Regions from separate parts of the Homo sapiens genome. Here regions 2 and 3 are each linked to region 1. Evidence: promoter capture Hi-C in human tissues and cell types (Jung and others, 2019). All regions are on one chromosome and are shown on one strand. Each heading gives the region's core, a stretch centred on a gene start or on the middle of the fragment in contact. The rest is flanking DNA. Distances are from core to core; before and after follow the strand shown. Region 1 holds the start of ATCAY (ATCAY kinesin light chain interacting caytaxin). Region 2 has its middle 9.2 kb from the start of MATK. Region 3 overlaps EEF2 (eukaryotic translation elongation factor 2).

Region 1 (4,043 bases), core at 1,112-3,611:
AATTCCAGCACTTTGGGCAGATCACTTGAGACCAGGGGTTCGAGACCAGCCTGGGCAACACAGCAAGACCCCATCTCTCAAAAAAAAAATACAAAAACTAACCAAGCACAATGGTGGGTGCCTGAGGTCTTAGCTATTCAGGAGGCTGAGGTGGGAGGATTGAGCCCAGAAGGTCAAGACCAGCCTGGGCAACATAGCAAGACACCATCTCTACGAAAAGCAAAAACAAAAACAAAAATTAATTAAATTTGGTGGGTGCCTGAAGTCACAGCTGTTCAGGAGGCTGAGGTGGGAGGATTGCCTGAGCCCAGGAGGTGGAGGCTGCAGTGAGGTATGATTGTGCCACCACATTCCAGCCTGAGCAACAGAGTGAGGTTCTATTTCAGAAAATAAAATAAAATAAAATAAGGCATCTGGCTGGTGCGGTGGCTCACACCTGTAATCCCCAGCACTTTGGGAGGCTGAGATAGGAGGATCGCTTGAGCCTGGAAGGTCAAGACCAGCCTGGGCAACATAGCAAGTCCCCATCTCTTAAAAAAAAAAAAATACAAAAATTAACCAAACATGGTGATGGGTGCCTGGTGCCTGAAGTCCCAGCTATTCAGGAGGCTGAAGTTGGAGGATCGCTTGAGACCAGGAGGTCGAGACTGCAGTGAGCTATGATCATGCCACTGCTTTCCAGCCTGAGCAACAGAGACCCTACTTCAAAAAATAAAATAAAAGATAAAGCATCTGGCTGGGGGCAGTGGCTCACACGTGTAATCCCAGCACTTTGCGAGGATCGCCTGAGCACAGGAGGTTAAGACCAGCCCGGGCAAGATAGCAAGACCCTGTCTCAAAAAAACCAAATACATGAAGCATCTAAGGCCCCCAACTCTCATGGCATCCAGGCTGCCTCTCTGTGGAGTAGGTTACCTGCAGCCCCCCAGCATAGATATCGGGTTTGCATCGGGGACAGGGGACTGTGGCTTAGCAAGGAAGGACCCAGAGGCAGCCTCAGCCAGATGAGGAAGTGGGGGGAGGGGACGGCTAAAACTAGACCCTCCCCCGTACAGGGTGAGCGTTTCTCACTCGATTCTCTGTCCTCAATGTCGTCATTCATGCTTGGAGGAGGGACAGTAACACGCAGCATGGAAAAAAAAAAAATCCCTCCTGGATGCTATGGGGTCGGGGGGGGGGCGGTGGCAGCAGCCAGCCAGGCCCTTCCCGCGAGGGTAAGTTCTCCTCGGCAGTAGAAACGCATTTGCTCTCCGGAGGAAGGGGTCTTCGCCTCTCCCTTCCTTATACTGAGCTGGGTGTGACCTCAGCCCCCAGGAACACTCCCACCAGCCCCGCCCCCGACCCCCACCCCCTGCCAGCTGCAGCCACAGGCGTTGACTCCACAGTCTTCTAAGGATGGGGTGGGGTGGGTCCTCAGTGGGCCCCGGACACTCCTGCACTCAGATCCTGGCTTCGCATTTGGGGACGGCCAAAAGAAGACAGTGACATCAAGGAACGGGAGTGAAGCGCTCATTTGAGCCCTGATGTCTGATTATTAACAAATCACATACGAGTTCCAATAAGGAGGAGGCATCTGTGTCTTAAACCATAAACCACCCCCTTCCTCCCCACCCCACAGGACAGCCTTTATCGACACACTTAGATTTTTTTTTTTTTTTTTTCCCGAAATCGTCGGCTGGTGGCCTTCCTAGCGTTATAAATAGGAAATACATAGGGCTAGGATGGGTCTATTTCAGCGTCCCAGAGAGAAGCTGAGGTTTTCATCCGCCCGAGCTCTCAGCGTGTCCTGAAAATGGTGCACTTAGAGGGGAACGGTGCGCGCGGAAGGTAAACTGTGTTGCTGGGCGCAGCTCAGGGAACGGTTTTCCCTGGTACCGGGAACAGGGATGTGAGGGCCTTCACGGAGTCACAAGACCGTGGCTCTCTGCTCCCACCCGCCCCATCTGCTGGAAAGGGATTTAGAGGCGGCAAAGGCTGCCGGATAAACCTTCCAGGGAGACGGTTTATCCTGGGAGAAGGGGAGATGCGCGCACTCACCTCTGCAGCTGAGACAGCCTCTCCTCCTTACTGGCAAACAAAGGCGAGCCCTGCCCGGGTGCAGCTGGGCATCGCTCACGCTCCCCGGGCCTTCAGAGCCTAGGAGGAAGAGGATGCTCGCAGGGGCGGATTCTGCATCCGAGGAAGGTCACCCAGGGCGACGTGGCCAGCGCCCGCCAGCTCTTTTGTGCAGGGGTGGGTGGGGTGCAGGGTTAGCGGTGGGCTCCCCAGCGCGGGGCTGCGGCTGCGCCCCCTCTCATCGCCGCCCGCCTGCGCGCCCTGCCTCCGAGGTAGCTGCTTCTTCCCAGCTCAGGGCTGGCAGAGGCTCGGCTTCCCGAAGACGGTTAATTTATGCTGCTTTTGTGTGCAGGGAGGAGGGGGTGGGGGGTGGCGGCCTGACGGAAAAGCACAGCCCCCTGCCAGAATCCGATCCTCCCCATTGGCTGACAGACAAGCATCTCCGAAAGCCACGCCAGGGGCAGAGGCAGAAATAATTTTCTGATGGCGCATCAGAGATTTAAAAACAAAACAACGGACAAATAAATAAATAAATGGCAAGATGGCCTCATTCCTTAGAGAATGGGGGGTGGGGGAGTTGGGAAAGGTCTTCTTGGCACTTCTCCTTGCAAAGGGAGCAGGGGTGAGGGGTGGCATCCCCCAAAAAGTCTGTGCAGGCAAAGAAATGACTGTCCCCAGGTCGGATGCCATGGCTCACGCCTGTAATCCCAGCACTTTCGGAGGCCGAGGAGGGAGGATCACCTGAAGTCAGGAGTTCGATACCAGCCTGGCCAACATGGTGAAACCCCGTTTCTACTGAAAATACAAAAATTAGCCAGGCGTGGTGGCGTGCGCCTGTAATCCCAGCTACTCGGGAGGCTGAGGCAGGAGAATCGCTTGAACCTGGGAGGCGGAGGTTGCAGTGAGCCGAGATGGCGCCACTGCACTGCAGCCTGGGCGGCAGAGGGAGACTCTGTCTCAAAGAAAAAAAAAAAAAAAGAAAGAAATGACTGTCCCCAGGTCACCGTGTTGTGGGTCCATTAGATGGTCACTTACCATTGATTCAGCCTCGTGCCCTAAACAGGGCTGGGTGCAGGGGAGGCGGAAGTTTCTCAGGCACACTCACTTTGCAGGGCTGCTGTGGGAACGGCGCCCCCTGCAGTTGTGCGCTGGCGTGGCCTCGCCCTGGAGGAATTCAAGGAGACTGTGGAAGATGGTAGGGTGGAGAGTGCAGGCCGTGCAGTCGGACTGGAAGTGGGTTTGAACTCTAGCCCAGCCACTCCCCAGCTGGCAGACCAGTGGGCATGAGTGATCTCACCTGCGGGCCTCAGTTTTTCTCATCTGTGAAATGGAGCCGCTATGGCTTTTCCACATTATGAGATAATGCATAGACAGCACTAAACACAGTGCTGGGGCACAAGAAAAGCTCCCTATGTGTTTCTTTCTCTTTCTTTCTTTCTTTCTTTCTTTCTTTCTTTCTTTCTTTCTTTCTTTCTTTCTTTCTTTTTTTTTTTTTTTTAGGTGGAGTCTCGCTCTGTTGCCAGGCTGGAGTACAGTGGTGCGATCTTGGCTCACTGCAACCTCCGACTCCCAGGTTCAAGTGGTTCTCCTCCCTCAGCCTCCCAAGTAGCTGGGATTACAGGCACACACCACCACACCTGGCTAATTTTTTTTTTGTATTTTTAGTAGAGGCGGGGTTTCAACATGTTGGCCAGGCTGGTCTCGAACTCCTGACTTCAGGTGATCCGCCCACCTTGGCCTCCCAAAGTGCTGGGATTAGAGGTGCGAATCACTGTGCTCGGCCTATATGTATTTCTTGCTATTGCTGTTTTTAATGTTTATTTTATTTACTTATTTTTTTAAGAAACAGGAGTTTTCCCTGTCATCCAGGCTGGAGTGCAATGGCACAATCACAGCTCGCTGCAGTCTTGAACTCCCGGGCTCAGGTGATCCTTACACCTCTTTCTCTCCAGTGGTTGAGACTACAGGCTCCTACCACCACGCCCTGC
Region 2 (3,963 bases), core at 473-2,972, 85 kb after region 1:
GGTGTGGTGGTGCATGCCTGTAATCCCAACACTCCAGGAGGCTGAGGCAGGCAGATTGTTTGAGCTCAGGAGTTTGAAACCAGCCTGGGAAACATAGTGAGACTAAAAATCAAAAAAATTAGCCAGCATGGTGGCAGGCACCTGTAGTCCCAGCTACTTGGGAGGCTGAGGCAGGAGGATCACTTGAGCCCAGGAGGTCGAGGCTGCAGTGGGCTGTGATTGCACCACTGCACTCCAGCCTGAGCAACAGAGTGAGACCCTGTCTCAAAAAAAAAAAAAAATTAATAGTCAAAATTAAAATGTCAATAGAAGGGTTGGAAGAAAAAGTAGAAAGTGGGGGGGTGGGGGGGAAGGTAGGCAAGAAAATGAAAACATCAATCCAAGAAGTCCACCCTATGACAATAACGTGTTCCACAAACACGCCAGAGAAACCAAAGTGGAAGAAATCACCAATGATATCATTCAAGAAAGTTTGCCAGGAAGAGAACACAGGAAAGAGCCCACCAAGTACTCAGCACAATGGTTGAAAACAGACCCACACCAAACCCACCACTGTGAAAGTGCAGGATGTAGGGAACAAGAAGATTCTACAAGCTTCCAGAAAGAGAGAGAGAGAGACAGAAATTAACCATGGGACAGGCAAAGTATGAGGAAACAGGACAACTTCTGATCATTCAGCTGCCCAAGACTAGAAGCTGGAAAACATTGGGCAAAAGAAAAGTATCCACCTACAATACTGTCAGCCAAACCTCTAATTACCCAGGAGAGTAGGAGGAAAACACTTTCTCTGGAAACCCTAGGGGGAGCACATTCCTAAAACAAGGGACCAAACCAAGAAACAGGGAGACCCACACCCAAGAAACAGGAGCTATATCTAAGAATCCCCTTGTGCCGAAGAAGAGAGGGGCCAGGATCACAGCTGGGCAGTAGGAGAAAGTCCTGAGTGGAGATGTCAGTTCTGGTGGAGAGGCTGGGGGAAAGAGTCACAGACACATAAAACCAAGGCGATGACTAACTCCAGGGAAATAAAAAAGCAGGTCCCAGAAAATAATGTTCTTAGTATACATTGCTCCACTGTCAATAATATTTATATTAATATATATACTATAAGCACTGAATTTTCATTTAAGCAAAAATTGTGATTTAACTGTTGGGGGAGCAGAATGCCTAAGAGAGCTAAATCTTGACCTTCTGGAATAGGAAGTCAATGGACAACATCCAACTGATAAATCAAGGGATGTGTAAAACACATTACTTGGAACTATGGAGGTAAATACCTGAAAACAGCAACAGCAACCCCTGAGGAGTGGGACATTATATTGCTTTGTCTTCAGCACACAGTAAAACACCCTATAAATATCAGCTGCTATTCATACCAACAAGAATATACTTACCCTTGAGAGGCTCATTGCTGAGTTGAGGAGCTTTATTTATATATTTTGAGTTTTATTTTTTTAAACACTTCTTGAGAGCTTATTACATGCCATGAGTATCAGCACATTTAATTTAACAGATTGAAAAATACAGCTGGTGGCTCACACGTGTAATCCCAGCACTTTGGGAGGCCGAGGCAAGCAGATCACTTGAGGTCAGGAGTTCGAGACCAGCCTGGCCAACATGGTGAAACCTCATCTCTACTAAAAATACAAAAATTAGCCAGGCGTGATGGCGCGTGCCTGTAATCCTAGCTATTCAAGAGGCTGAGGCAGGAGAATAGCTTGAACCTGGGAGGCGGAGGATGCAGTGAGCCAAGATCACGCCTCTGCACTCCAGCCTGGACGAAACAGTGAGATTCCATCTCAAAAAAAAAAAAAAAAAAAAAAAAAAAAGCACCTACTTATGAGAAAATAAAGACTGTGAGAAGGCAGCGGAGAGCAAACTACAGTCTGAGGGCCAAGTCCAACCTGCCATCTGTATCCGCACAACTCCTCCAGCTAAAATCGTTTTTTTACATTTGTAAATAGTTGGAGGAAAATGGAATCAATATTATATGACATATGAAAAGTCATATGAGGCCGGGCATGGTGGCTCATATCTGTAATCCCAGCACTTTGGGAGGCCAAAGTGGGCAGATCATCTAAGGTCAGGAGTTCAAGACCAGCCTGGCCAACATGAAACCCATCTCTACTAAAATACAAAAATTAGCCGGGTGTGGTGGCACATGCCTGTAATCCCAGCTACTTGGGAGGTTGAGACATGAGAATTGCTTGAACCCAGGAGGCAGAAGTTGCAGTGAGCCGAGATCACGTTAATGCATTCCAGCCTGGGTAACAGAGTGAGACTCTGTCTCAAAAAAAAAAAAAAGGCCAGGCTTGGTGGCTCACGCCCATAATCCTAGCACTTTGGGAGGCCGAGGTGGGCGGATCACGAGGTCAGGAGATCGAGACCATCCTGGCTAACACGATGAAATCCCTTCTCTACTAAAAATGCAAAAAATTAGGCGGGTGTGGTGGCGGGCGCCTGTAGTCCCAGCTACATGGGAGACTGAGGCAGGACAATGGTGTGAACCTGGGAGGTGGAGCGTGCAGTGAGCCAAGATCACGCCACTGCACTCCAGCCTGGGCAACAGAGCGAGACTCCAGCTCAAAAAAAAAAAAAAAAAAAAGCAAAAGAAAAGAAAAGTAATATGAAAGTCAAATGTCCATGTCCATAAATAAAGTTTTATTGGAATGCAGCCACGGTCTTTGGCTTCTGTGTTATCTATGGTGTCCCTGAAATGGCAGAGCTGAGTAGTTGGGACAGAGACCAGCATGCCCTTTAGAGAGACAGTTTGCTGGGCCCTGAGTTAGAGCATGAGGTCATGAGAGGATGAAGAGGGATCCTGGAGGAGAGACTTAGGGGCTGCTCTTGAGTAGACATGACTGGTTTATTCCGGAATAATGTGTATCTCCTGTTCTCCTTACTTGATCTTTTCTTTTCTTTTTTTGAGACAGGGTCTTGCTCTGTTGCCCAGGCTGGAGTGCAGTAGCATAATCATAGCTGACTGCAGCCTCAACCTCCTGGGCTCAAGTGATCCTCCTGCCTCAGCTTCCTGAGTGGCTGGGACTACAGGCATACACCACCACACCCAGCTAGTTTATTTTATTTTTTGTAGAGACAGGGTCTCACTATGTTGGCCAGACTGGTCTCCAATGGCAGGGCTCAAGCAATCCTCCCACCTCAGCCTCCCAAAGTGCTGGGATTGCAAGCGTGAGCCTTCATGCCTGGCCTCCTTCCTCAGACTTTACCCTCTCATCTGCTTCTGTAAGGGCCTTTTATGTGCCAGGCTCCAGACCTAAATGGTTGCCGGGCCCAGGGCTGGTCGTTACCCTCATTAGGAAGATATATTCTGTCGTGGGAAGCAAGGATGGAGGGAGATTGACAATGACGAGTGAGACAGGATAACAGGTGGGGATTCCGGCTTTGACAATAGAGAGTAACTAAGGGTGACCACTGTGGGGTGGCCAGGGAGGGTCTCTTGGAGAAGCTGAAAGTGCAGAGAAGTAGCTGGCCTTGAGAAGAGCTGGGGGAAGGATGTAGTACTAGGAGATAGGAAGAGCATGTGCAAAGGTCCTGTGGCTGCCCCATGCCTGAGCTTTTGGGAGACAAGGGAGAAGCTGGGAGCAGAGAGGTGACAGCCACTGGACCGCAGAGGTGACAAAGCACCGGGAGGCACACTGAGCTTAGTGGGAACCATGGGAAGCTTTTATTTTATTTATTTTTTATTTATTTATTTTGACAGTCTCACTCTATCACCCAGGCTGGAATGCAGTGGCCTGATCTCAGCTCATTGCAACCTCCACCTCCCAGGTTTAAGTGATTCTCCTGCCTCAGCTTCCCGAGTAGCTGGGATTATAGGCACATGCCACCACGCCCAGCTAATTTTTTTTTTTTTTCTTGAGATGGAGTCTCCACTCTGTCGCCCAGGCTGGAGTGCAGTGGCGTGATCTCCGCTCAGTGCAAGCTCTGCCTCCCGGGTTCACG
Region 3 (4,511 bases), core at 1,372-3,871, 100 kb before region 1:
GCGAGAGCGGCCCCATGGGCAACATCATGGTACGGCCCTCCCTAGCTGGGTGGTGGGCTTGCCGCAGCGGGATCTGCAGGAGCCGGTGGGGAGTGGAGTTGAGCTGAGGGGGACTGGAAGTGTGTTTTTGCCAGGAATGTTGGGTGACAGAGAAGGGGGCTGGAATGTTTTCATCCGACTTGACCCAGCCCTTGATCTTTGGGCAGCTGGAAGAGACGAGCTCAGGGAACGCTGCCCTGGGTGGTGGAGGGGCTGGCCCCCCTATTCGTGATGACTGATCATTTCTTCACTTTGACCAGATGTCTACTGAAGAAAGCCTGCGTCTGAGGCCCATGCCCAAGGCGCCCAGCCCGTAGCTTCAGGCTCTGCGCAGGGGCCCTCACGGCTGCTTCTCGTTTCTCACACTTCCAGATCGATCCTGTCCTCGGTACCGTGGGCTTTGGGTCTGGCCTCCACGGGTGGGCCTTCACCCTGAAGCAGTTTGCCGAGATGTATGTGGCCAAGTTCGCCGCCAAGGGGGAGGGCCAGTTGGGGCCTGCCGAGCGGGCCAAGAAAGTAGAGGACATGATGAAGAAGCTGTGGGGTGACAGGTGAGCCCCGCGGGATATGGTGGGGGATTCCTGACACCTGGGGGTAGTGGCAGCGACGTAGGGGCGTGGTGTGCTATTCACAGCGTGGCTCAAGCCCACCAGGTCTTGCCCAAGCATGTCCCCTTGGCGACCACCCTCCCCAAGTCATCCCCTGGAGACCCTAACTTGATTTGGCTTGGCCTCTCCTTGCCAGGTACTTTGACCCAGCCAACGGCAAGTTCAGCAAGTCAGCCACCAGCCCCGAAGGGAAGAAGCTGCCACGCACCTTCTGCCAGCTGATCCTGGACCCCATCTTCAAGGTGAGTGAGGGCTGCGCCAGGCACCCCGCCGATGCGACTATTGGCCCTCGGCCCTGTGGGCTCCGGCCGGTAGCCTGTCGGCTGACTGGGCCCGTCTCCTTGTGGGGCAGATGCGAGATGGGAGGAGGCACAGCTCCTAACTGAGGTGGAGTCAGGGCTCCTCTCTTAAGATCTGGACTGCATAGCCAGAGCCTTGGGACCTCTCCTGCATTGAGGGGGTTGAATAACTTGTGGCTTTGGCGGTTCAGTGCTTGTAAGTCAGAACTTGGGTCCTTGTCTGAGTCAGAGTGGGCTTTTTCCTCTGCTCCACCACGAGGTTTCCTCCAGCTCCCGATCCGCTCAGCTGGCTGGGCCCGTGGTAGGCAGGCCAGGCCTGCTCCTGCTCCCGTGCTGCGTCCCCCTGCGCTGACCTGAGTCTTCCAAGCAGGAAGCAGTGCCAGGCTTCCTCCTGCTGTTCCCAAATGGGCTTTCTTGTTTCTTGGTGGGGAATGTAGGTGTTTGATGCGATCATGAATTTCAAGAAAGAGGAGACAGCAAAACTGATAGAGAAACTGGACATCAAACTGGACAGCGAGGACAAGGACAAAGAAGGCAAACCCCTGCTGAAGGTGCGGCCTGGGCCCAGCCCTCGGGGTGGAGGGAACACAGGCTGCTGTTTCCGGATGCTCTGACAGCCCAGGCCTGGGGGCTGAAGTCCTCAGCTGGGCAGGGACAGCTGCTGCCCCTTTCGCTTTAGACTCTGGGTGCTGCTGGAGACACATCCCAGCAGCCAGCCCCATCCGGGACAGGTGTGGGTGAGGGCCTTGGCAGGAGTGTGCATGGCCTTTGCCGCCTTCCAGAAGGGACTGTGCTTTGGAGAACGTTAGTCCTGACTTTGGCTTCCTTGGCTTCAAGAGAGGAAGCGTGTACGGGGTGGGGCCATCCTGGGCTCCCCAGGTGTCTCATGCACCGCTCTCTGCCCCCGCAGGCTGTGATGCGCCGCTGGCTGCCTGCCGGAGACGCCTTGTTGCAGATGATCACCATCCACCTGCCCTCCCCTGTGACGGCCCAGAAGTACCGCTGCGAGCTCCTGTACGAGGGGCCCCCGGACGACGAGGCTGCCATGGGTACGTGGTCCCGGTGGCCGGGCCCTGAGATGCAGCCGGATGACTTCCTGTTGCCCAAGGTTGTGGGTTGCAGGGTTCCAGAAGGCTGAGCTGCACTGGAATAAAGCTTGCGGGTTTTCTCTGTCCCTCAGGCATTAAAAGCTGTGACCCCAAAGGCCCTCTTATGATGTATATTTCCAAAATGGTGCCAACCTCCGACAAAGGTCGGTTCTACGCCTTTGGACGAGTCTTCTCGGGGCTGGTCTCCACTGGCCTGAAGGTCAGGATCATGGGGCCCAACTATACCCCTGGGAAGAAGGAGGACCTCTACCTGAAGCCAATCCAGAGGTGAGCAGCTGGGTGATGTGCAGGCCCCTTGGCACTGTTGCGGGCCCTGCCCTGCTCCAAGTCTTGGGCTCCTCAGTCGGGAGCTAGAAGTAAGGAGCATAGAAGGAATATAGGGTGATACTTGTGCCAGCCACAACTTTTGTTCTTAGCCCAGTGAGGGCATTTCTGGAGAAGCTCCAAGCCCCAGGGCACAGCACACCCCTGCTCATCTGTGTCCCTGGGCACAGGTGGGTGGCGGCCGTCGACCCATACCCAGGGAGGAGGGCAGTGATTCTGAAGAGGATGTTTCCTGACAGCCCCGACGCAGCAGTCAGGGCCTTGTGGAAGCCACCAGTCTGCCCTGGGACCTGGCAGGAGGGCCACCAACTCCGGGAGGGACCTGCCCTGGCCCTCCAGGGTCCAGCACAACCATCCCTGCGGCCTGCTGCCGCCTTCTGCTTCTTCCAGAACAATCTTGATGATGGGCCGCTACGTGGAGCCCATCGAGGATGTGCCTTGTGGGAACATTGTGGGCCTCGTGGGCGTGGACCAGTTCCTGGTGAAGACGGGCACCATCACCACCTTCGAGCACGCGCACAACATGCGGGTGATGAAGTTCAGCGTCAGCCCTGTTGTCAGAGTGGCCGTGGAGGCCAAGAACCCGGCTGACCTGCCCAAGCTGGTGGAGGGGCTGAAGCGGCTGGCCAAGTCCGACCCCATGGTGCAGGTGGGCACGGAGTGCACCTGCTGGGAGCAGACACCCTGAGGGGGGACGGCTTGTGTCCTGAGTTGTGGCTGTGTGGGTTGCTGTGGTTGGTGGATTGGGGTGACTGGTCATGAAAGGAGGGGTTCTTGGCTGTGGCTGTAAATGGAGACTCCTGCCCAGGCAGCCACCACCCTCTCCTAGGCTGCTCTGCGCGTGTTCACTGTAGCTTGTGGGACTTAACATTTCTTCAGGAGTTTGTGCTGGTCCCAGTTTCCCAGCACCTTCCCTGAAATCTTGTTCTGGCGGGGTCCCTAGCTAAAGGGAAGCTGGGAGCCTGGTCCCGCCTGTTCCGAGCCGCCTACCCCTTTGGTGCTGACCCGCATCCCTTTCAGTGCATCATCGAGGAGTCGGGAGAGCATATCATCGCGGGCGCCGGCGAGCTGCACCTGGAGATCTGCCTGAAGGACCTGGAGGAGGACCACGCCTGCATCCCCATCAAGGTGAGGCGCCAGTGACCAGCCTTCCCCACGCCCCACCCCGGACACCTGCCCTCTGCTTTAAAGCTGAGCTGAGCTAGGCTCTGCAGACGCCTAGACTTGATCTCGGTCTTGGTCTCAGCTTCTTAAGTTCCTCAAGTTTCTTCTTTGCAGTCTTCCACAGGCATGTGGGGCTGTTTTTGTTGTTGTTGTTGTTTTTTTTGAGATAGTCTCGCTGTGTCATCCAGGCTGGAGTGCAGTGGCGTGATCTTGGCTCGCTAGAACCTCCACCTCCCGGGTTCAAGCGATTCTCTTGCCTCACTCAGCTTCCTGAGTAACTGGGACTACAGGCGCGTGCTACCACGCCCGGCTAATTTTTTTTTGTATTTTTAGTAGAGGCGGGGTTTCACTGTGTTAGTAAGTCAAGATGGTCTCGATCTCCTGACCTCGTGATCCCCCTGCCTCGGCCTCCCAAAGTGCTGGGATTACAGGTGTGAGCCACCATGCCTGGCCCAGGGCTATTTTTTTTTTTTTTTTTTTTTTTTTTTTGAGACAAGAGTCTTGCTCTGTTGCTTAGGCTGGAGTGCAATGGCGTGATCTTGGCTCACTGCAAGCTCTGCTTCCCAGGTTCACGCCATTCTCCTGCCTCAGCCTCCTGTAGCTGGGACTTCAGGCGCCTGCCATCATGCCCGGCTAATTTTTTGCATTTTTAGTAGAGACGGGGTTTCACCGTGTTAGCCAGGATGGTCTGGATCTCCTGACCTCGTGATCCACCCGCCTCGGCCTCCCAAAGTGCTGGGATTACAGGCGTGAGCCACCACGCCCGGCCTCCGGGGCAGTTTTTGAGTTACATCCTGCTGTCTTCTGTCCACAAACAACACAAATGCTCTGGAGGGGTTGGGACAGGCCTGCTCCAGACCTCGTTTCTTCCCTGTTAATGCTTAAAATTCCACAAGCCCGTGGTTTCTGCGCCGGAGAGCTCAGTGGAGCCCCTGCTCCTTGTCCTTGTCTGGAGTGAGATGCGCTTG

Evidence for each region. The method cuts DNA at HindIII sites, captures the fragments that hold promoters and counts their contacts. A contact is called where the count stands out against the background at its distance.
Region 2: a fragment that was not itself captured here is called in contact with the fragment with the promoter of ATCAY in region 1 in 5 of the 25 tissues and cell types used here (H1 embryonic stem cells, IMR-90 fibroblasts, dorsolateral prefrontal cortex and 2 more).
Region 3: a contact is called between a fragment that was not itself captured here and the fragment with the promoter of ATCAY in region 1, in 4 of the 25 tissues and cell types used here (dorsolateral prefrontal cortex, heart right ventricle, lymphoblastoid cells and 1 more).

The regions. Positions count from the first base shown.
Region 1 is chr19:3,879,003-3,883,045 of GRCh38, reverse strand. ATCAY (ATCAY kinesin light chain interacting caytaxin) reads right to left here and starts at 2,361. Exons shown (of 13, transcript NM_033064.5): 1 at 2,038-2,361. RefSeq lists an enhancer at 2,156-2,686. The HindIII fragment of the contact is 15,458 bases long and covers 1-4,043 here.
Region 2 is chr19:3,793,618-3,797,580 of GRCh38, reverse strand. It overlaps a transcript of MATK not described here. Among named protein-coding and RNA genes, the nearest start is that of MATK, 9.2 kb to the right of the region's middle. The HindIII fragment of the contact is 4,542 bases long and covers 1-3,963 here.
Region 3 is chr19:3,978,325-3,982,835 of GRCh38, reverse strand. EEF2 (eukaryotic translation elongation factor 2) reads left to right here. Exons shown (of 15, transcript NM_001961.4): 4 at 1-29; 5 at 412-590; 6 at 784-889; 7 at 1,384-1,497; 8 at 1,857-1,995; 9 at 2,127-2,322; 10 at 2,770-3,028; 11 at 3,400-3,507. SNORD37 (small nucleolar RNA, C/D box 37) reads left to right here and starts at 264; the gene lies at 264-329. RefSeq lists an enhancer at 512-1,363. The HindIII fragment of the contact is 5,039 bases long and covers 102-4,511 here.